4 separate regions of the Homo sapiens genome follow, and all the other regions are linked to region 3. The links are contacts of gene promoters, found by promoter capture Hi-C in blood cells and fetal thymus (Javierre and others, 2016). All regions are on one chromosome and are shown on one strand. The core of a region is centred on a gene start or on the middle of the fragment in contact, and the rest is flanking DNA. Distances in the headings are between cores, read along the strand shown.

What was found. Contacts are between HindIII fragments. The CHiCAGO score rates a contact against its expected background, and 5 or more counts as called.
Region 1: the fragment with the promoter of TXNL4B here is called in contact with the fragment with the promoter of WWOX in region 3 in 2 of 17 cell types (naive CD4 T cells and total CD8 T cells); the score reaches 6.0 in naive CD4 T cells.
Region 2: the fragment with the promoter of HSBP1 here is called in contact with the fragment with the promoter of WWOX in region 3 in 9 of 17 cell types (total CD4 T cells, naive CD4 T cells, naive CD8 T cells and 6 more); the score reaches 14.7 in total CD4 T cells.
Region 4: a contact is called between a fragment that was not itself captured here and the fragment with the promoter of WWOX in region 3, in 1 of 17 cell types (naive CD8 T cells). The highest score is 6.3, in naive CD8 T cells.

The regions. Positions count from the first base shown.
Region 1 is chr16:72,090,360-72,096,493 of GRCh38, forward strand. TXNL4B (thioredoxin like 4B) reads right to left here and starts at 3,261. Exons shown (of 4, transcript NM_017853.3): 1 at 3,008-3,261; 2 at 259-427. The coding sequence starts at 390. DHX38 (DEAH-box helicase 38) reads left to right here and starts at 3,488. Exons shown (of 27, transcript NM_014003.4): 1 at 3,488-3,692; 2 at 5,780-6,121. The coding sequence starts at 5,799. RefSeq lists enhancers at 3,034-3,363, 3,374-3,423, 3,484-3,783. The HindIII fragment of the contact is 4,501 bases long and covers 2,795-6,134 here.
Region 2 is chr16:83,804,492-83,810,333 of GRCh38, forward strand. HSBP1 (heat shock factor binding protein 1) reads left to right here and starts at 3,487. Exons shown (of 4, transcript NM_001537.4): 1 at 3,487-3,630; 2 at 4,189-4,255; 3 at 4,814-4,934. The coding sequence starts at 3,586. The coding sequence ends at 4,932. RefSeq lists an enhancer at 3,281-3,782 and silencers at 3,440-3,616, 3,634-3,923. The HindIII fragment of the contact is 4,790 bases long and covers 941-5,730 here.
Region 3 is chr16:78,098,404-78,104,031 of GRCh38, forward strand. It overlaps WWOX (WW domain containing oxidoreductase), which reads left to right and starts at 1,251. Exons shown (of 9, transcript NM_016373.4): 1 at 1,251-1,482. The coding sequence starts at 1,376. RefSeq lists an enhancer at 1,485-1,984. The HindIII fragment of the contact is 3,217 bases long and covers 1-2,520 here.
Region 4 is chr16:72,666,765-72,672,888 of GRCh38, forward strand. All of the region lies in intron 1 of ZFHX3-AS1 (ZFHX3 antisense RNA 1), which reads left to right. Among named protein-coding and RNA genes, the nearest start is that of ZFHX3-AS1, 4.7 kb to the left of the region's middle. The HindIII fragment of the contact is 4,681 bases long and covers 1-3,968 here.

The sequences.
Region 1 (6,134 bases), core at 2,011-4,510, 6.0 Mb before region 3:
ATAGTTTTCTGCTCTTCCATCACCTTGTTGGTGAAACAGCATTGACAGCTTCTAGTGGGTAAGGACATCCAAGACAGATTCAGCACACACAGATTTGGGGGCTTGGTTCAGGGCAGGCACACAATCAGCTCTTAGTGAACTAACAAATGAACAGCTATATACCCAACCCTGACTACTCCCTCTCATGTACTACTCAGATGCTGAAGTGAGAATATACAGATTATTAATAAAAACCAATTATTTTAGACATTCACTTACAATATCATCTAGCTGCAGACAGACAGGATCTTCATCTCTCCCAAACCTGAGAACCAACACCTTCTCAGCAGTACTTTTTATCGCCTGGTCTACTTCCTTTTTGCTAGTCAGCTTGGGCAGTAGGAAGCTCATCTTGAAATAACCCAAATGTGAATCCTCACTGTCACTCCTGAAATAAAGGTGCAATGTTTAAAGACAGTTTAGATTAAGTGCGTGAGCCCTCATTAAAAAAAATTAATTCACAGAGTAGCTAATGTATTCACATGGTATGAAAGAAACATCATAGAAAGGTAACACTGTGGAGTTTCCCTCTCTTTGTCCCTGCTCCTTGGAACCAGTTTTCATTGTTCCCTCCCCCGGGCCAGATAACTGCTTTCATTAGTTTCTCATGTATCTTTCAGAGTTTTGTTATGCATTCACCAAAAAATACAAATATGCGTTCCGATATTTTTTTTCTCTCTCTCCCCACCCCCAAAAGATAGCCTATTGTATCAGTGTTCCAGCAGGAAAGCGATGACACTCTCAACTTTGGTAATTTGAAGGCAGTTTAATTAAGGCAGGTGTAGAAAAACAATACGGTAAAGTGTACTACTTTGGGGCTAGTAACAGCGGGATGCTGTACCCATCCCTAGGCCATGGGAGGAAGAAGCCACGGTAGGAAGCAGTTATAAGAATTGTGTGGCAGAAAGAGGTGAGTGGAGAGGACAGTGTATAGGAGGGCAGCCTGCTGTTAGGTGTTGCAGCCACTCTCCTCCCTCCCTCTGACCTTTGCTCATGCAACCACCGGCTGACTCCAACTGGAACCAGAGGGCAGGGGCCTGTTGAGGCAGGCAAACCTCCCTGTCCCAGAGCAGTCTAGAGGAGGATGAAGAATGGCTGTGGAGGGACCAATGGCAGATGTTCAGCACACACACTTTATCTACTCTTCAGCACTTTTCATTATTTCAAACCTAACCTATGAAGATTGCCCCATATCTCTATATAGAGAACATCCATATTCTCTGTCATGGCAGCATATTATTTCTTGCATGTGTTACACTTTTTAAACAGTCCTTTATTGTATACTTTATATTATTACAAGTCCTGGCTTAAAGATTCTTCGTGTGCACCTTACTAGGTGCACCTCATTACACGGCAAACAGATCAATTAAGAGTGTGTGTGAAAACTACAATACCATAAACAAATAATAAAATACTGAGGTACAAGGGACCTAATACAACCCCGTCATTTTACAAACTAGCTTGCTTACAGTTGCACTTTCTACTACAATGACAAGGACTAGAATACAGGCCACCAAATTTCTAGTCCAGGGGTCCTTCTACTACAATAATCTATTTTCATGATTGGTAGAAATTTCATTTTTGAGAAACTCTTTGACAAAGAAGCTTAGTTTTGTGGTCATCTATAAGAGACTCCATTGAGATGGTCGGTATTTTGAATTCAGTTCCAAATATGAAAAGGGAGGATTTCTTTTCCTATTTTTTTTGTCACAAGTCACATTTTAAGATACGAATTAGGCCAGGCTCACCCCTGTAATCCCAGCACTTTGGGAGGCCAAGGAGGGTGGATCACCTATGGCCAGGAATTCGAGACCAGCCTGGCCAACATGGTGAAACCCCGTCTCTACTAAAAATACAAAAAATTAGCCGGGCGTGGTGGCAGATGCCACCTGTAATCCAAGCTACTCAGGAGGCTGAGGCAGGAGAATTGCTTGAACCCTGGAGGCGGAGGTTGCAGTGAGCTAGGATCGCTCCACTGCACTCCAGCCTGGGCAAGGCAACAAGAGCGAAGCTCCGTCTCCAAAAAAAAAAAAAGGAATTATTTAACTAAAATTCACATAGGAAATAAGATTGTTCCAGCTATAGGTCATACTTTAAACAGGGACATTGATGGCCCAAAGGGACGTCATCAGATGTGAGCAGCAGAACAAATTACCAATGAAAGGGAAGGTCAAAGAGAAGACGGATCTGTCCCACTAGAATTCAAACAAACAGCAGTTCCTCCGTGTTACTGATCGAAAGGAGAAAGTAAGGGGAGAACAAAGTTGTTAGTGGTGAGGCTAGGGGTGCAACTGGACAAACGTTGGAAGCAGGAGAGGAAAACTGAGACCACATCTAAGAAAATGTCCATAGTAAATGATACCCACAGAGAATTCCCAAAAGAAGACGTACAAATGGACAGTAAATAAACTAAAAAGTTAAGCTTTACCAGTAAGCAAAGAAAAGCAAATTAAAACATATGTTTACAAAGTCACTGAATTGGCAAAAATTAAACAAGATAGTGGTAGGGGCAGGCACAGGGAGTTCCTGCTGGAATGCAGACACAAAACCTTTCTGGAAAGAAAACTGACATACTCTTTGACCAATAACTCCACTGCTTTCCTCTCTCCCTCTCTTTTTCTGAGGCGGGGTTTCGCTATGTTGCCCAGGCTGGTCTCAACTCCCCAGGCTCAAGCAATCCTCCCGCCTCAGCCTCCCGAGTAGCTGGAACCTCAGGCGCGCGCCACAACTGCAGAAACACCAAAAAAAGAAAAAAAGCTTGAACTCACTTTTGTACAGAATCTTACTACAATGTATTCCAGAAAAACAACTGGAAATCAGTGGTCATCTCTGCGTGTGAACGCATGGGTGATTTTTATTTACAGCCGGGCGCGCATCTCCATTTTCCAAAATATCCGATATACATATTTAAAGTCACCTGTGTTGCGCTGCTCCTGGCCCACAAGCGCTAAGGGACCCCAGCACTTACCTTACTCGTCCACGCCGCCTCACTCCCTTTCACTTTGTGGCTGTCAGCAACCACTTCTCGGAAGAGCCCGGGCGCGGACAGCTCCTTTCATCAGCCCCAAGCCGGACAGGACCCTAAGACCAAGTCACCCAGGGGCTGTTGCCTAGCAACCCTCGTGGCCCCGCTAGCGGGAAGGAAACCGAACAGAAAACGCACAAGCGCAGAAAAGAAACTCCTGGCCGTCGGTCGGCCCCCGCTCAACAGCCCAATAAACGGAAGAGCTTCTAGTCACCGCCCACCTTGCTCGGCTCTGACCGGAAGCTAGGCGTCACCTCCGCCCGTATTAAAGATGGTCGACCTTTTTCCCCTCCTTTTCCTGCCCCCAGACTAGAGGCGGGATGTAGTCTCTTAGGCTAAGAGTGATTGGTCACAAGGAGACTCGGAAGTGTCTGATCAGAGCCCCAGAGGAGGCCTTGAGAGCCTGTTGGCGTACCGTTCCACACTTGGATCCAGGAATCGGGCGTGTTCCAGGCTGCTCTCTATGGTAGCTTTGGGCGGATAGAGGGGGCGCGCAAAGTATTAAGGGACAATAATGGCCGCTTTCAAGGTGTGGATTTTGGCTCCTTGAGCCTGTCTGAGCGAGGGGTGGCAGCGCCGGCGCCCCAGAATCCGGGACAGAAGGGTCCCAAGAGTCGCGCTTGGTGAGGTGAGAGTCCCTTCTTCCTTCCTGGCCTGCCCTTCTGTAATCATGGCGGCTCTAGGCGGCGGATATTGGTCCCCTGCTCAGGTCCGGGCCCCAGTTTGGGGAGTTCCTCTGTCGTCCCTGTCACCCACCTTGCCTTACTCACCTCAGGGATGCTGCATCCGTCCTGGCCGCCTTGGCCTTCCTCCTTGCTCTGGTCAAATCCTGCTGCCTGGAGCGGCCTCGCTGAGATCCAGGGATGCTGCCTGGAGTGGCCTTGGTCCCTCTCCCAGGCCTCCGCTTTAACCCACCCCAGACTGTCACCGAGCCCGAGTAGGACTCCTTGTGTCTTCCTCTGCTCTCTCACAGTGTCATTTATACCAGGCAATCTGGTGGGCGATCTCTTCTACTAGAATGTCAGCTCCAGGTGGGCGGGGATTTTTGTCTTGTTCTCTGTTGCTATCGCCGAGAACAGCAATTGGCTCAGGGACACCCTCAGTGAATAATTGTTGAATGAATGAATCCAGGTTCTTTCTTCCCTGGCTTTCTCGTACGCCTTGTAGTTTCTTTGCCATTAATCCTTCTCAAGAATCTTGCTCTTTAGCTCCTTATTTGTTCGTCTCAGCAGCTAATGAAGTTCTCTCTGGCTGTCTCCTTGTCCTGTGTTGCTGGAATCTTCCCTTGCTGTCTCCAGAAATGTTTGGGTTCCTGTCCTCCTTTAATAAGTTTAAATTAATTCATTTTTTAATTTATCAAACGCTTATTTTGCTAGACATTGAGCTACAGCAGTCAACAACACATCCAGTGTTCTCTCAACTGCGTAGAATGGCAGTCCAGGGTACCTTTCCTAGTTTAGACAACTATTGAGTAGAGCCTGTATATCTTTACCTTCTTGTGTGGATTTCCTCACATGCGCACAGATGTCACCAATATGCAGCTTTCTTTTTTTCTGTTCTGCCTGATGGCATTTTCAAAATGTAACTCTTGTTTCTGCATTAATATTATGTGTCCAGTCTGTTTGGCAATACTCTGTAGAGCTGTGCATTTAATTAGAGTTTGGTAAACAATTCTGGATTCTGGTGGCATCTCCTTTGCTTTGCTAACTTGTTGGAATGAGAGGAATTATCCAAGCATCCAGAACTGATATATGTTGATGAGTGGCAGATGTGTAGTGAGAGGTAAAGAGGAGCTTGTTCCAACTTGAGTGCCAGAAGTCTTGTAGCCACTTAAATACTTCTCAGTAACACCTTTTCCTAACCTGGTGTTTCTCATAAATATTTTTGGTGAACATGGATTGTTATTAAACTGATTTTGGCTGCTGTGAGTAAATTGTTTTCTGTAAAACGCAGCTAGGCCAAGAAAAGCCACTAAAGTATGGAGAACATGGACGGTAGCCTTCTGCCCCATCTCTGTGCTGCTGTACCTGTTGTTTAAAGAGAGGAAGAGGTAGAACTCATGTAAAAAAATGGGTGAGGGACCAACAGTATATAGGAGGATAGCAAATAATACAATGTAGCAGTTACATTTATGTTAACTGTTATGGTTACATAAAGAGCTACTCTTTATGGTTTCACATACACTTTTTGTTTGATTCTCACAATAGCTTCATGGATTAGATAAGGTAAAAATTTTTTCCATTTAATAGATATGAAATTATGGCTAAACAAAGATTAAGTTATTTGCTTACCATCATACAGGTAGAAAGTGTCAAGAGCCTGGTTTCTAATTGAGGTTTCTGATTCAAATTTAGTGGTGTTTTCCCTACATCCCTGTTACAGCTGCTGACATCAGGCTCTAGAAAGTGTCCCTTAGTGAGACTTTTTATTGCCTCTTGGATCTTTGTGGGGGCTGGGGAGGAATGTATGGGGTGTGTGTGTGTGTGTGTGTGTGTGTGTATCTATTTTGGTGTTTATTGGGGGTTGGAATAGGAGAATCTTTGGAGATAGGCAGTGACTTGATGGAAAGGTCTTGGAGAGAGGGAGCAAAAGTAGTCCTGGTCTTAAGGGGAGATGGGGAAGGTTAATCACCTACATATAACCATAACTGCATTTATTGTGGGATATAGTAGAGCTGAGCCTTCTCTAGTACCAAATGGTTTGCCTTCCTTCCAGAGAAATCCCAGATCCTGTGATGGGGGACACCAGTGAGGATGCCTCGATCCATCGATTGGAAGGCACTGATCTGGACTGTCAGGTTGGTGGTCTTATTTGCAAGTCCAAAAGTGCGGCCAGCGAGCAGCATGTCTTCAAGGCTCCTGCTCCCCGCCCTTCATTACTCGGACTGGACTTGCTGGCTTCCCTGAAACGGAGAGAGCGAGAGGAGAAGGACGATGGGGAGGACAAGAAGAAGTCCAAAGTCTCCTCCTACAAGGACTGGGAAGAGAGCAAGGATGACCAGAAGGATGCTGAGGAAGAGGGCGGTGACCAGGCTGGCCAAAATATCCGGAAAGACAGGTAAAGGCCTTAG
Region 2 (5,842 bases), core at 2,237-4,736, 5.7 Mb after region 3:
GGCACCCTTCACTGACCCTGCTGTGGCACCGCCCATCAGGTGAAGGTTGCTCAGCAGCAGCATGAGGCAACCTGGGAGGAAAGCAAACCAGGGGAGCAGCTGCTGGGCCCCAGGGCTGGGCCTACAGAGCTGACGCAGGTGCAACTAGGCAAAGAACATTCCAGTTCCTCCAAGGCCCCGCTAGGATCATTCCATCGCTGCTCACACAAGGCAAACGCACAAAGCACCTCATTGCATGTGGTCACATGGACAGACCAACACCTTCCATAGTGTATTTTATTATTACTGTTTTTTGAGACAGAGTCACAATCTGTTGCCCAGGATGGAGTGCAGGGGATAGATCTCGGCTCACTGCAACCTCTGCCTCCCCAGGTCAAGCGATTCTCCTGGCTCAGCCTCCTGAATAGTTGGGATTACAGGTGCACGCCACCTAGCCCAGCTAATTTTTGTATTTTTAGTAGAGATGGGGTTTCGCCACACTGGCGAGGCTGGTCTTGAACTCCTGGTCTCAAGTGATCTGCCTGCCTCAGCCTCCCAAAGTGCTGGGATTACAGGCATGAGCCACCATGCCCAGCCACCTATCATAGTACAGATCCAAGAAAGGAGGCATGTCAAAAGAATGGCCCAGAGAACCAAAAAGCAATTATAAAAGTACCATAATAAGCGCACGTAAAACAAAACTGTCTTGAATGGAAAAAGGGAGTTACAACATGCAATTAATCTAGGAAGAGCTTTAAAAAAAAAATGCCAAGAGGAGGTAAGACAACTATGACACTTAAATAAAGGTTAAAAATGAGAGTTGTTCAAAACCGAAGTTTAAAGGTTAATTACTGGTGCCTTACACGTAATACATTAGTTTTGTTAATGGGACAATATTCAGTTAGGTTCGGTGTGTCAGCCCCACAAGGTGAGTATGTCAGCCATGAGTATAAATTAGTGAAGCTTCCGTGAAAAGCAGCCCTTTAACAGACCTTGGTCTCCACACAGAGAAAGCATACTGCCTGTCTGTTTAAGTGCAAAAAATAAAGGAACAAATAATGCCTCCACTAAAAGAGTATCAAGTTTGTTTGTTGTTCATGTAAAGCAAATTTCCAATTGGAATTTGAAAAAAAAAAACCACAAGTGTCTTACCAGAAAAGGAAAGAAAAACTCCAGATTCTCGTGCTAATTCATGTTCCTGAGTTGCCCACAGCCATAAGACAGGTTTGCTCAGAGATCCAGGGTGCAGGCACCCAGCTTTCTTTGCTGAGTGTGGGAGTCCCAGGGATTGGGGTCTAAAGTCAGAAGCCTGAGGGCTTTCTTCACCTTGGCTATTCACTAGTTTTTAAGGAGTTCTGAAGTTTTATGAAAAGTCTTTTACGATTAGCTGGGCATGGTGGTGCTCACCTGTAATCCCAGCTACTCAGGAGGCTGAGGCAGGAGAATCGCTTGAACCGGGGAGGCGGAGGTTGCAGTGAGTCGACATGGTGCCACTGCACTCCAGCCTAGGCAACACAGCAAGACTCCATCTCAAAAAAAAAAAAAAAAAAAAAAAAGTCTTTTAAGAAAACTGAGATACTGGCATCTAGTAGGTAGAAGTCAGAGATGCTGCCCAACGTCCTACAATATACAGGGTGCCCCCTCCACCACCAACAATAAAGAACGACTTGACTCAAATGCCAGTATTGCAGCTCTTGAGAAACTCTGCTCTAAGCTCAAAAAACTCAGAGAATTCTAGAATGGTGAGAAAAAAGGAGAAGATGCAGAGTCAGGAAGTCCTGCGTCTCTTACTTCCTTAATTTGATGACCTTGTTCCAGTTTCTTAACGCCTCTGCATCTGTTTTCTCAAAAATGTAAAATTATGATAATTATATCACAGGGTCTTCTGAGGATTAACTTAAAACACTGAGATATTTTTATTTCAAGTAGTCGGGTAAAGCACTAGCCAAATACCAGTTGACAACAGCCAATTACAAAAAAGTTGTGTATACTTACACAGAAAGGAAGATCTCTCTATAGGAAAGGATGAGGTGTGAAGGGTGAGGGGCAAAGGTGTGAGTGAGGGGGAAGGGGTGGTAAAGGGAGTTGAAGTCTCATGCCTCAAGGCCAACTGGATTCCGGGTTTGTTAGAGACACTGGTGGGTCTGGCAGAGGCGTTTGAACAAGAGCAACTCCATCTCGAATAGGAGCTGGGTAAACTGAGGCTGAGAACTACTGGGCTGCATTCCCAGACAGTTAAAGGATTCTAAGTCACAGGATGGGATAGGAGGTCAGCACAAGGTACAGGTCATAAAGACCTTGCTGATAAAACAGCTTGCGGTAAAGAAGCCGGCCAAAACCCACCAAAACCAAGATGGCAATAAGAGTGAACCCTGCTTGTCTTCATTGCTACACTCCCATTACCGCTATGACAGTTTACAAATGCCATGGCAACGTCAAGAAGTTACGCTATATAGTCTAAAAAGGGGAGGCATGAATCACCCACCCCTGGTTTAGCATATAATCAAGAAATAACTATAAAAATGAGCAACCAGCAGCCCTCAGGGCTCTGTCTATGGAGTAACCATTCTTTTATTCCTTCATTTTCTTAAACTTGCTTTCACTTTACAGACTCGCCCTGAATTCTTTCTTGCATGAGATCCAAGAACCCCCTCTCTTGGGGTCTGGATCAGGACCCTTTCCCGTAACAGCTCTAACACCTTACAGCCTCTCCCTAGCTAAAGTCAAACTGGAGCTGACCCCTCACATAGCACAGTCCTTAAATGAGATGTGTGAAAGTTTCCAGAACATGCCAGGCCCGCAGTCAAGGACTCTCCTATCCCCTTGCCATGAGACCCAATCCTAAAGACCACCTGTGGGGTTGGAACTTGAGGTTCCAAATCAGCAGTGCCCACCTCCTTCAACACCCAAACCCACAGTCTAACCCTGATGCCGGAAGCCTTCCCCACTCAACAGCAGGCATTGCGTGGAGTGAAAGAAGCCAGGCATGATGGACAGCTTCCTGTCTGAATCCCCTCATATGAACCTGACGGGCACAATGAACCTACTGGGCTAAACTCCAGACGCTGGCCACCTTCATAGGGTGGAGATGACAGAACAGGACAGGAGCCATGGGGCTCCCGGGGCGGGTAGGGGTGGGTCATGTTCCTTGGCTTGGGGGCAGTTACAAGGGTACAGTGGGGCTTGTTGAAGGGCAAAAGTTCTGTAAGTTCGTCCCGACAGGCCAAAGAAACCCCAGAGCCGTCTTTCGACTGACTACAGCCTGGAAGAGAGGCCAAGACCACTCCCTGCCTCTATTGCTCCATTTCTGAGTTGGTCTCACTTTCCACCCCACTGACGGCGCGCTGCGTGAGGGGCGGGGCATAGAGGGAGGGGAGGGGCTATGCGAAAGAAGGCGGGGAGAGTGGGGTGGGGCCGCTCCTTGGAACGGAAGCGCGCGGCCTCGAGGCCCTTCCGGTGCGGGAGAAACTACTACTCCCATAATGCCCCGCGGTCCCGCGAGCTGCCAGTCTCGTCGCGAGAAGCAGCGGCCCGGGGCGACTGAGCGGACAAACGGAAGTGTAGGTTACGGTCTGAGACATCACCGCCAAGCTGGGCATCGGGGAGATGGCCGAGACTGACCCCAAGACCGTGCAGGACCTCACCTCGGTGGTAAGGGACGGCTGTGAGGGCCGGAGGCCGCGGCCTTCCCGGGCGGCGCCGGGCCAAGCCCTGCTGGACAGAGGCGCGCCCACCGCGGCCGCGCGTGGCGTCTGCCGAGGCCCCGTTTCTGGAAGCGTCTCTGGCCGAGGCTCCCGGCCACCTTGACCCCCGGGGCGCTCGGTGCGGGCCAGTCTCCCCGCGGGCGCCCCCAAGCCCGACCCCTTCCAGTAGCCCCATTCATCTGTCGCGAACGCCCTCCGGGTCCCTCCCGCCTACCTCTGACACCCTCCCCGCCCTTCAACTCCTCACACACCCCCGGGTGCCCCAGCCCGGCAGAAACAACCTAAAGACCCTGAGCTTTGAGTCGCAGCGGCCTCCCCAGCCCAGCAGTCTAATTGGACAGGTTGGAAAACGGAAGCCCAGAGAAGGAAGATCTTGCTGAAGGCCGCACAGCTGTCCAGAGGCAGAAATGGGGCTGGAACCCCGGGACCAGGGCTTGCGTCCTGATCCCAGGAAGTTGTCTCAGGATCGATGTGGACCGTGTTTGTTTGTTTCGGTTTTTCTTAGGTGCAGACACTCCTGCAGCAGATGCAAGATAAATTTCAGACCATGTCTGACCAGATCATTGGGAGAAATATCCTTTTTATCTGCAGTCGGCCTCCTGTGGGCCTTTGGAGCCTATTTGCCGGGCAGTGGTGGGGATAAATGAGTAGTTTTCAGGCTAGCTTCAGCCATTCACTTGTAGAATTTGAGCTTGGATTGTACTGTGTTTCTGAGAAGGACTGCGCCGAGAGCTAGGGGCAAAGCTGAGTTAGACTCCTGGCTCAAGGAGCATACGTCTACCAATCCTAATAGCTGGTGTGGTGGACCATGCACTGTGAACTAAGCGCTTTTGTGTGTGTCTTTTGATGCTCAGCATGACCTTATGAGTGGGTTGTAGTGTTATCATCTTTAGCAAATGAATAAATTGAGGTTTAGGGGTTCCATCACTAGTAAGGGTCAGGGCTGGAATCCGATGCGGGGTAGCCATGCCCCACAGTCCTGTACTCTTACCCACCAGCGTGTAACAGTGTCGAAAGAAAATTGGAAGACCAGTTTCCCTAAAGTCGTTGTGTTTAAGGCTGTAGTCTGCAGGGACGGGAGGAAAAAGGCTCAATGAGATGTTGGCACGCGTTGTCTTTAACTTCAGCACTTGATGATATGAGTAGTCGCATTGATGATCTGGAAAAGAATATCGCGGACCTCATGACACAGGCTGGGGTGGAAGAACTGGAAAGTGAAAACAAGATACCTGCCACGCAAAAGAGTTGAAGGTGAGGAAGGGGGCAATTTTTTTTTTCTTTTCTTTTCTTTTTTTTTTTTTTTTTTTTTTTGACACGGAGTTTTGCTCTTGTTGCCCAGGCTGGAGTGCAATGGCACGATCTCGGCTCCCTGCAACCTTTGCCCTCCTGGGTTCAAACGATTGTCCTGCCTCAGCCTCCCGAGTAGCTGGGATTACAGGCTTGTGCCACCACACCCAGCCAATTTTGTATTTTTAGTAGAGACGGGGTTTCTCCATGTTGGTCATGCTGGTCTCGAATTCTGACCTTGAGTGATTTGCCCGCCTCAGCCTCTCAAAGTGCTGGGATTACAGGTGTGAGCCGCCGTGCCCGGTCTTTTTTTTTATTTTGTCTTAAAAGAATAGAGAGAACCTGTAAGTATAATTTGTATGTAGTCAGACATTCTGTAGATCAGTTCCCAGCCATGATCCCAGCAAGCATCACTGTATTGTTTACCTGCTGTGGACTTGATGTTTTGAAATTTTTCATGCCAAACTCATTCTTTACACCGAATTTATTTTCCCAGTTTTTATTAATTAGACTTCTGTCACTATTAGTGAAGACCACTGGCTAACATTAGATAACCACTGAGTTTTTATCATTCCAGCTAATAATTAAGGTGTCTTTTTGTTGGCCTATAAAGCCTGTCACTGGAAGATTTTCCATTGCTTTTTTTTTTTTTTATGGAAATAACTGATAAGTCACCCACATTACCACCTTCTTAAATGGCTTAAATTCTGGAGACTTTCTTGGTAACTTGACATAGGTGAACTAGATTGTGGCCACATTAAGCTTTTACCCTGGAGTTCATTTAAATTTCCTCTGAATAGTTTCAGATGTCAGAGGAAAGCCTAGTAATTCAAAGTACCTACACAGCAAGATAGGTAAATGTACAGAATCAC
Region 3 (5,628 bases), core at 1-2,500:
TTTTATTTTCCTTCCTTCCTTCCTTCCTTCCTTCCTTCCTTCCTTCCTTCCTTCCTTCCTTCCTTCCTCCCTCCCTCCCTCCCTCCCTCCCTTTCTTTCCAGATTCTGGACCTATTCCAGACTTACTAAAGGAAATTCTCTAAAGGTGAGGCAGTTTTTTAAAGACAGCAGCTCTCTCTGTCGTCCATGCTGGAGTGCAGTGGCCCGATCATAGCTCACTGCAGCCTCGACTTCTTGGGCTCAAGTGATCCTCCCCCTTCAGCCTCAATGAGTAGCTGGGACTACCGATGTGCACTACCACGCCCGGCAAACTAAAAAAATAATTATTTTTGGTAAAGACAGGGGTCTTGCGATGTTGCCCAGGCTGTTCTCAAACTCCTGGCCTCAAGTGATCCTCCTGCCTCAGCCTCCTAATGTGTTTGGATTACAGGCATGAGCCACTGAGCCCGGCCTAGCTACCCTGTCTGAGTTGTGCCCACTACACAAAGGTGTCAGCTACATGTGATGTCTGTGCATTTCTGGCCTGGACCGCACATTAAGTGCTCCGTAAACATCAGTCTCTATTATCAACAGTCTCTATTATCAATCAGTCTCTATTATCATCAGTCTCTATTATCATGAGTCTCTATTAAACAACAGTCTCTATTATCACAGTCTCTATTATGTGTTTTGGCTGAAAGAAAGTTCTCTAAAACCAGGAAATCAGGAATCAGCAGTTTTAAGTTCTCCAGGTTATATTTTAACATTGTGTTCATATGCAAAACAAAGGTTGTGAATCAGCACGAATGCTGGCAAGCCCTGGAAGGTTTGTGATCACGGACTTTCACGAGACCCCAAGGCAAGGAGAGACAGAAGCCCAGGACAACAGCATGGGCGCCGCTTTTTAGTCGGGCGCCGCTTTTTGGTCAGGCGCCACCTGGACTACATTTCCCATATCCAATTGCCGGGCTCCTGCAGGATTGGCCAGAACAACGCGGAAGTGATTACGGGTCGCCCAGCAACGGGCGGAGTCCTGGCCCGAAACTGGATGCGCACGCCCCTTCCCTGCGGCGGGGAGGCTGACAAGGCTCCGCTCTATCTCTAGCGCCTCGGAGCGCTCTCCGGCTTTGCTGTCTAGCCCGGCGGCAGCGCGATCTCTTAGGCACTTTCACCGCCTTCCTCTCCAGGCCCTGCCCCTTTGACGCCGGCCGTCGCGATATTGCGGAGACTGGATTTCAGCTTCGTGGTCGGCGGAGCGGCCCCTGGAGGGCGCAGTGCGCAGGCGTGAGCGGTCGGGCCCCGACGCGCGCGGGTCTCGTTTGGAGCGGGAGTGAGTTCCTGAGCGAGTGGACCCGGCAGCGGGCGATAGGGGGGCCAGGTGCCTCCACAGTCAGCCATGGCAGCGCTGCGCTACGCGGGGCTGGACGACACGGACAGTGAGGACGAGCTGCCTCCGGGCTGGGAGGAGAGAACCACCAAGGACGGCTGGGTTTACTACGCCAAGTAAGGGGGCCGCAGTGGGGCCGCGGACGCACCTGGGACCCTGCACAGCCCACGGACGCCACCTGCGCGGGGAGGACGCGCACTCCAGCGCAGCGCGTGCGGTGCAAAGTGAAAGTAACTGTTAAGGAGCTTCAGGGAAAAGGGTCCAGGGTTCCCAGTAGGGGCCGGCCCCCTTGGTGGGCCTCGGGTCCAGCGGGGGTCACCTGGTGGCTTCCCGGCGCGCCCTCTGCTGTTCAGGATGCAGCACTGCGCGGCGCGGCGAGGGCAAAGCGGCCTCATCCCCGCCAAAAAATAAAGATGTTTTAAAAAGCGCACATGCTCAGCTCCCTCCTGCAGGCTCTGGGTTGCAGGGATAGGAGTTTTGTTGTGTTTTGTTTTGTTTTGTCCAGACCGGTATTGCTCAGTCATCCAGGCTGGAGTGCAGGGGTGCCATCATAGCCCACTGTAGCCTCTACCTACTGGGTTCAGACAATCCTCTCATCTCAGCCTCTTGAGTGGCTGGGACTACAAGCGTGCACTACTATGCCCGACTAATTTTTTAAGTATTTGTAGAGACTAGGGTCGCACCATGTTGCCCAGGCTGGTCTCGAACTACTGGGCTCAAGCAGGCCACCTGCCTCAGCCTCCAGAATTGAGATTACAGGCGTGAGCCACTGCGCCTAGCCAGGAGTATTTTTTAGTAGCAGTCCTAGATAGCTTCACTATCATTTCCTGGGAAAGTTTTGGAAACCCCAGCAGAGCCTTCATCTTTAACTGTGTGACCTTGGGCCATTGAAATAACGTTTAATCTTGGTTTTTTCACCTGTAAAATGGGTTGATACGAGGGTCAGTTCAGGCACTGTGCGTAAAGCACATAGCACCGTGTCTAGTAGGTACTCTCTGTTCCTTAACTGTCGTTCCTTGATTGCTCTTAAGATACGACAGTGCCTCTTATATCGGCACCTTAGAATCACCTAGGAAATGTCCTAAATACACGTTTTGGGTCTCCATAGAGAACCTACTGTAGCCGACTCTCAACTTTGGGAGTCTCTTTTTTTAAGCTTTCCAGGTGAGGTGGAATATCACCTGGTTTTGAGAAACATGGATGTAAATCTGATTTTCAGCATCTGGGAAACTTTTTTTGTAAGAGCCTTTTTCTGGGCCCCACTTCCAGAGGGTTTTTCTTTTTTTTTTTTCTTTTGAGACGGAGTCTTGCTCTGTCGCCCAGGCTGGAGTGCAGCGGCGCGATCTCGGCTCACTGCAGCCTCCGCCTCCCGGGTTCACGCCATTCTCCTGCCTCAGCCTCCCGAGTAGCTGGGACTACAGGCGCCCGCCACCACGCCCGGCTAAGTTTTTGTGTTTTTAGTAGAGACGGGGTTTCACCGTGTTAGCCAGGATGGTCTCGATCTCCTGACCTCGTGATCCTCCCGCCTCGGCCTCTCAAAGTGCTGGGATTACAGGCGTGAGCTACCGCTCCCGGCCTTTTTTTTTTTTTTTTTAAAGACAGGGTCTCGCTCCGTCGCCCAAACTGGAGTGCCGTGGTGCGATCTCGGTTCACTGCAACCTCTGCATGCCGAGTTCAAGCGATTCTCGTGTCTCAGCCTCCCGAATAGCTGGGATTACAGGCGCCCGCCACCAGGCCTGGCTAATTTCGCGCTGTTGGCCCGGCTGGTCTCCAACTCCTGGCCTCAAGTGATCCGCCCACCTCGGCCCCCCAAAGTGTTGGCATTACAGACAGGAGCCACTGCGTCAGCCCAGAATTTCTGATTTAATTGGTTTGGCCCCTCCCCTCTCCCTTGGTAGGTTGTAAAATCTTCCCTCCCAGGTGATTCTAATCTATGCAAGGATGTGAACCACTGCTGCCTTTGGTGGCAAGGTAGAGGAAAAACAACCAAGTTCTGATGAGTTCATTCAAGACACACACAGGTATTATGTGACAGGCCTTTGGCTGGCACTGGTTATACCGAGGCAAATAAGAGCCAGTTGTCATCCTTAGGACCCAATCTTATTAGGGCACAGTGACATGTGTAGGAGCGTCCCCACGCAGTGTGTATACCAGGAAGTAGTGTGTCTGGCATGAGGTGTGTGTAGGTAGTTGGGGGGGTCGTGAGGGAATATGGTGGCACCCTCACAGTAACCTTCACTTCCTGGGCTCAAGCGATCCTCCCGCATCAGCCTGTTGAGTACCCGGGACCACAGGTGTGTGCCTCCACACCCAGCTAATTATTACATGTTTTGTAGAAATGGGGTCTCACCATGTTGCCCAGGCTGGTTTGAACTCCTGAACTCAAGCCAGCCTCCCTCCCGAAGCACTGGAATCACAGGCCTGAGGCACTGTGCCAAGCCCAGAGCGGTGTTTTGAGCTCAAGTAGAGGTGGGTGGGGCAGGAGGGCAGTCTAGGTAGAGGGAACAGTGAGAGGAGAGACCCCCTGCATGGCCTGTCCAGGGGCCTGTGATCTTTGTGAGGGTCCAGGAATGTGAAGGTTAAGGCAGGGAAGGGAGGACCCATTTCAAGGATTTCTGTGCCTTGCCGAGAAGCTTGGGCTCTGTTGGCAGAGCCAGAGAGTGGCATTCATTCAGCTTGTGAATTCTGGAAGAATTTCTGGCTCTGGAGAATTAAAGGGACATTTCCAGCAGCAGAGCTCCAGTAGCCTTTGCAGGGACGGAGGCAAGCTCCTGAGCGGGCACTTGCTGTTCCTCTCACCTGTACATCTGTTGGGGAAAGGCTCCTTCTCATCCTTCAGAGCTGAGCTTACATGTCACTGCCCAAGAGACCTTCTTAACTGTGGGTGTCCCCTCGACCTTGTACTAGTCACCTTGTTTCTCTGCTTCTTCGTGCTTAGCCTTGGCTGTGTACTCCTCCTTGTTGGCCCTGTCTCCCTTGCCCAGGTTGCAGATGTCATGGGGCAGCTTGTTCATCTGAGTGTCCCCAGTGCTTGGCACCCAGAAGCCATAAGATGAGCCCCTGTGGGATGAGTAAATGAATCACCTTGGGAGGGTCAGCCGCAGGCTTCTGTGGGTGGGTGGGTGGTGCACTGGGCCCCAGAGTACAAAGATGCACATGACCCGCTTCCGGCTTCCTAAGCCCACCTCTGCCTCTGGCTCTGTGGGGCGTCTCCTCCTTTGCCACTCAGCCCCAGAGGTGCTTCTGCTTCCCTGCAGGCTTGCCCTGGAGCCTGGCGCTAGGGCCCTGGGGCTCCCTTGCTCCTGCGTGCCCCCTGCGCCTGCCTTCCTGCTGCCTGGCCTTTCTCCCATCTGCTTTCTTCCTGAGTGGCCCCTGGCCAGGGGACTCGGGTGCATACATGGTTTCCAAACGCCTTTCCTCCAGCCCTCCCGACTAGTGTCTTAAATCTCAAGCTGGCCTCTCTGGCTCCGCTGTTTTTTTTTTTTTTTTTTTTTTAATTTAATTTAACTTTAAATTCCGGGATACATGTGCAGGATGTGCAGGTTTGTTACATAAGTAAACCTGTGCCATGGTGACTTGCTGCACTTGTCAACCCATCACCTAGTTGTTCAGCCCCCCGTGCATTAGCTATTTATTGTATACACCAGCTGAGATGCCAGGGCTTGGCTGGCTCTCAGCTGGAGGGCTCACTCTCTGGACCTTGTGTCCGTCCCTGCTGGCCCTCAGTTCTCTGGATCAGGGTTGAAAGGCTGAAATTCTTTGGGTGTTAGCTTAGGATGCCTCTGATCCATCCTAACCCGACATTCCCTTGATCTCTCCTGATCTGTGAGCATCCTGGCCCTTCTTTTCTTTTCAGTTTTAATTTTTGCGCTGGCTCCAACCCCTTTTCATTCCTGACTCTGGAAGTGACACTTGTTTTTCTCTTGGGGTTTGGGAAACTTTGTGGTTGTTCTTTCTAGGAGGCTGCTCTTTGAGTCATTTCTTTTCCATATTGTTTCTCCTACTGTAGCAGGGCCATGGCCAGGGATAGAGGCTGTAGCTCCCACTGAGACCTCGGGGTCTGGTGGAACCCGGTCTTGTGTGGGTGCTGTCGGCCTCTCCTGCTTTCCCACCTGCCTCACGGTTCACTTGTGTGCCTCAAAGGCACACATGTCCTAGCACTCCAAAGCCCACCAGGGTGGGCTCCCAGGGGTGAGGTCGAGGTAGACCGGGAACCCAAGAGAGCTGGTGGGCCTTTCTTCTACCCCTCTCCCCTCACAGTC
Region 4 (6,124 bases), core at 378-2,877, 5.4 Mb before region 3:
TGAATCTTTTGTGACCTAGTCCATAGTCACCTCTCTCCCTCCTGAATGCCTATAATAGTCTTTATTTGGCATTTTTTTGTATTCTTTATAATGTTTCTTATTTATGTTTATGAATATATCTTACATATAACTTGCATCATCTAAACCCTAAACTACTCAGAATTGTGTTCACCATGTACCTGGCAGACAGACTTGAACAAATAAGTTTTGATGTAAAACTGCCAAGATTAATACTAAATATAGTTGAGATCCATATTAGTTTGCTAGAGCAAACATAACAAAATGCCACAGACTAGGTGGCTTAAACAACAGAAAGTTATTTTCTCACAATTCTGGAGGCTAGAAGTTCAAGATCAAGGTATCAGCAGGGTTGGTTTCTTTCTGAGGTCTCTGTCCTTGACTCAGATCACTGTCTCATCTCTTTGTCTTCATGTGCTGTTTTCTCCATGTGTGTGCACACCTGTGTCCAAATTTTCTTTCCTTGTAAGCACACCAACCCTACTGGATTTAGGCCCGTGTTAAAGACCTCATTTTAGCTTAATTACCTCTTCAAACACCTTATCTCCAAATAGGGTTACTTTCTGAAGTACTAGGGGTTACACCTTTAACATATAACTTTTGGGGAGACTCAAGGCCATAACAGTAGCCAAGACTCAAAAAGCAGAAATGATTGGGAGCAATTATCTGTCACCTTTCAGAACTCCCATTTTTAGACCTATAGATAGCATAAATGTGTAAGTCAGATTAGTGTAAGATAATAGGAAGTGGTAGGGCCTGTGGCAATTCAAAGTATATTTGCCCAGACAGAAGACATTCAAATTAAAATTGTAAACAACCCTCCATCCCCACCCGAGCCATCCAAACAAAACAGTTTGGCTGGTTTTGACTTACAGGTTATCAGTTTGCAAAAACCACCACCATGTTACTTCGTTTGGAATCATAACCTGATGGTGGATATTGGACATATTAAGTATTTTTATTGCATATCCAAATACATTTTTCCCAGACCCCATTGGTTTATGCACAGCTTTTTTTATTGAGTACTTGTTGTGTTAAAGGAACTGTACTAAGTGCCATGCAGGGATTAAGATCCATACGTTTGGCTACATATATCCTAGAGTTACAAGGACCTATTTTTGAGATCATTTATTAAATACCTAACTTTACAAAATTTAATTTTTTGTGTAACTTTATCGTGTAAATAAATTTGAACTCCAAAAAAAATTTCTTGTCAGACTACATGCACCACAAAGACCAAGACTGTGGCCTCAAGTACAAGGGTAGAGGAAATGAGACAAATAAAAAAATAATTATTGAGCAAGATGAAAGAAGACCATAAGAGGATTATAGATAAAGTGCTATGGAAGATTACAGGACAAACAGATTTCATCCAGCTGGGTGTGGTGCTGAAGGTATTTAATGCAGTTCGAATTAATCTTTTCATGGCACTTGGTACCTCTAATATATCATTAATCGGCATATTATATGGTAGCTATTTGCTTATGTTCATATCCCTCCCAGTACGTTCTGAAATACACAAGAATGTCATAATCTTTATTTGTTCCAGTCTAATGTTATTCAAAAGCATCTAGTGTTACCCAAAGGAGTCAATTGGGGAACTTTTTAAAAAGAAACTTGTCTTAATTCTAGCTCTGAAGATTGTAATTAAGTAGGCCTGGAGAGGTGGTGGAGGATCTCTATTTTGAAAAGTTTTCCCTCACTTAATAAATCTGGTGATCACACCATTTAGAATCTACTGCCCTAGAGCACCTAGTATATAGTATGCTCTCAGTAAATTGTTGTCACATTAAATGAGCAGAGCTGCAATTTAGTAAGATTAATAAGACTCCAGTGTGTAGGATGAATTAAAGTGGGAAATATCCTAAAGGCAGGAAAATCCTATTACAGATGTCCAGCTAAGAGATGAAGCAGCCCTGAACTAGGGTAGAGACAATAGGAGATAAATGGATGAGAAACACTGAGAAGGTAGAATGAGCAGACTTAGGTGAAAATTGATATAATGCAGTAGTTCTCAAAATGTAGTATGCCTAAGTCTTACATGGGTTGTTGATTTAAAAAGATTTCTGGGATCTATCCTTGAAAACCTTTTCAGCTAATTCAGGGTAAAGCACATGAATCTAGCATTTTTAACAACCCTTCTTCATGATTTTGATTTAGATTATTTAAATTAAAAACCTCGATTTAAGAACACACTGATCTATTAACCATAGTGAGTAGGGAAGAGGGACTATTGAAAAAGAATTCTAAAGATTAAATCTTGAGCGACAGGGAATATGATAAGCCATTAATTCGGCAAGTAAGAAATGTCATTTAAGAGCCTGGAAAAGAGGTATGAGTGAAGAAAAAATTGGAAAATCTTTGTTTAATAAAGATTTCTAAGAGATCAAAGAAAAAGAAAATGGTTATACAGAGAATTGAGGGAGTATTTCTCCTTTTAGAGACCTTGAAAGAGGCAGCATATGAAACAAAGTGGAAAGAAAAACAAACTGGCAGAAACCAAAAACAAGAGTCTCAAGCAAATAATATTTATAGCAGGTGAATAAGAAATACAGGGGTTGTGTGGATGTAGAGAGGTTTCTGGAATTGACCTGTATCTGTATTGTTGAATAGAAGAAGTTCTATAGAATGTTGGGGTTTCTACGAGTTGAAGAATAAATTCACAGCAAAATCAAACCTAGGTGATTAAGCATAATTTATAATGTGGAAAAAAGAGTGAGAAATTATTATAACAAAGAGGTGACCCCTCAAGTTACTTGTAATTCATAGAGGTTTTTTTTTTTGGTTTTTTTTGAGACAGTTTTGCTCTTGTTGCCCAGGCTGGAGTGTAATGGCGCAGTCTCGGCTCACTGCAACATCCGCCTCTCCAGTTCAAGAGATTCTCCAGCCTTAGCCTCCCAGGTAGCTGGGATTACAGGTACCCGCCACCATGCCTGGCTAATTTTCTTATTTTTAGTAGAGACAGGGTTTCGCCATGTTGGCCAGGATAGTCTCGAACTCCTGACCTCGGGTGATCCACCCACCTCTGCCTCCCAAAGCGCTGGGATTACAGACGTGAGCCAATGTGCCCAGCCGAGACTTCCATTTTTTATAACAAAATAATTTTAAGAGCAGAATCAAAGGAAATAAAAAGTGAGAGATAAAATGGCCGTGATAAAATTAATAGTAATCATTCATTATTAGCCAAACATAGATTTTTGTAAGGTTCTTCTTGAATAGTAGGGGAAGGTAAAAGAAATGAATTAATAAAATTGATTAAAAGTCCTCTTTTTAAGAAGTAGAAGAAAACAAAAGAATAAAGGTAATTTGAGGAATGGAGTTTTTAAATTTTAAAGAAGAAAAATAGTTGGAGGGAAAATAATATTTTTTCTAGGTTTAGCAACAAACTAGTTTTATAAACATTGCATGTTATATGCCAGTCTTATAAGCTATTTATAAGTAGATAGTGACTGTGGTGGTCAACTATATAAAAGATCTGGCATGCCTCTTACAAGTTGTGTATACAACCTTGGTTAAGTTAGTCCTGTTCTATAAAATGGAAAATAATAACACCTGCCTTATAACATTAAATAAATGATATAATGTTAAGTATGTGCCAACTATATAAAGCATTCAATAAATGGTAGCTATTTTTATTAAGTGAATGACCTTATGCAATTTACTTAACTGCTCTGAATTTTTAAGTTTTTTTTTTCTGTCAAATGGGATTAGTTGTCTGATGTTTTTATAGGGTTATCAAGAAGATTAAGTTATTAGAAAATTAGGGTTATTAGAAGATCTTGTAGTATGAATAACACATAACACATAAAAACACTCAGTAAATGTTAAATACTGTTATCAAAAATCTCAAAATGACACGTATCACAATTTTCACAGTGCTTTTAAATATATTCTTCATATAGTCTTTTCAACAATATTGTGATAGTCCCTTTTACAGATGAGATGCAGAAAGCTTGAGCAACTTAGTGCAAAACAAGCAGTCCTCTTATTTCCAGGCCCGTTCTCTTTCTCAACATGCATTTAACTCACAAGGCTTCTTTTTTTAACTTTCTGTCTTGAAAATTTTTTTCAATTCTTCAGCTAAGACAGCAGAAGAGATGATTTATTGTATACTGTTACACTCAGCCACAGCTTATTTTTTAAATATTAGATTTACATGTAGTTGCAGTTAGTAATAGTACAGAAAGATCTCTTGTATCCTTCACTCAGTTTCCCCCAGTGGTAACTATATCTCGTATAACTATAGTACAGTATCACTATCAAGAAATTGACATCTAGTGACCTTATGTAGAATTCACAGGTTTAACATGCATTTGTGTGTGTGTGCATTTAGTTCAATACAGTTGTATCATGTGTAGATTCATGTTACCTCCACTACATTCAAGATGTAGAACTTCAGTCACCACAAGTATTCCTCATGCCACATTTTTTTATAGCCACAACTGATCCTCCTATACCCCAGCTGCTAACCCCTGCAAATCACTAGTCTATTCTCCAGGTTTACAGTTTTGCCATTTTGAGAATATTATATAAATGGATTAACCATTGTAACCTTTTGGCATAGACAACTTTTATTTTTTAATAAGATTTACATTTAATTTATGTCAAAAATAAAGACATCTTAAAACGTAAGCCTTCTCTCTGTTGGAACAATGGATCTCTTTCTAAGTTCTTGGCCTACATGTTGTAAGAGAAGAATTGGATGAACCACATGACAGAAATTAACAATGACAAAGACTCTCAAATTTCAAATCTAGATACACATAGTTCTTGGATTTTTAGATGACACAACTTTTTCCTTTTAAAAATGGTTCAAAAAACAAAAGATGGTTCAATGGCCATTGCCTGCCTTTCTTCTCAAAATGCTTTCTTGTGAAAATGCACCTAGTTGTACATCTTGGGTGGATTTTTACTGTCACATCAGTGACTATGGAAAAAGAAGAGTGATATCCTGGAAAATTGTGGAATAAGAAGTTTCAGAGCTTGGTCTTCTAACAAAACAACCACTAAATGTGAAAAAGGTATTATCAACTATTTTAGAACTCTGGAAACTGATTGAACACTTACAGCAACCTGAGGAGTGCTTGATGAAGAAAAGTATAACTGAAATGCAATAACATTTCATTGCAATACAGCTAGCAATCCCCTTTCTTCTACCCTGCTGCAGCCATGGGGATAGTAGTCTGCATTTCTGGAGTAGCTGGCTATTGCCAGGGGTGGCAGTAAGGAACTTTTCCTACAAATTTTAGGAGTTGTGCATTTGGTCAGTCTGGCAGTTCCCTAAGGAACCAGCAAAGACACTTTTTATTTTTCAGCCCCCCTGGCTTGTAGCAGCTTTCTCATGGCAACTAACAGAAAATGTAAAGGAACACACTCTTTTCTCTCTCTCTTTGGATCCATACATTTAATTAAATCTCTGTCAGGTCAGTGCCTGACTACAGCAATAACAGAAGAGAAACTTCTTTATCCACATAAAATACTGCAGCCTTAAGCAAGCAAAAATGAGCAATCCATGAAGAGCAGTAGAATCTGATTTTGAGAGTTACCACGTTATAGTACTCAAGATGTCTAATTGTCTAATTCTCAACAAAAAAGTCACCATATAAAGAAACAGAAAAGTATAGCCCATTCATGGGAATTTTTTTTTTTAAAAGAAGTTTTACAGAAACCATCTCTGAGGAATACTAAACATTGGAGTTACTAGTCAAAGACATTAAACCAACTCTCTTAAAATGCTTAATCAGTTAAAGGGAAACTATGGACAAAGAACTATGGAAAATCAGAAAAACAATGTATAAGGCCTGGCACAGTGATGCACACCCGTAATCCTAGTGCTTTGGGAGGGTAAGATGGGAGGATCACTTGGGGCCAGAAATTTGAGACCAGTGTGGTCAATATAACAAGACCTCCAATCTGTACAAAAATTAAAAAAAAAAAATTAGCCAGGTCTGGTGGCACATATCTGTAGTCCTAGCCACTTGAGAAGCTGAGACAGGAAGATCCCTTGAGCCCAGGAGTTTGAGGCTGAACTGACACTGTACTCCAGCCTGAGTCACAAGAGTAAGACCCTGTCTCTTAAAAAAATAAATAAATAAAAATAAAAAAT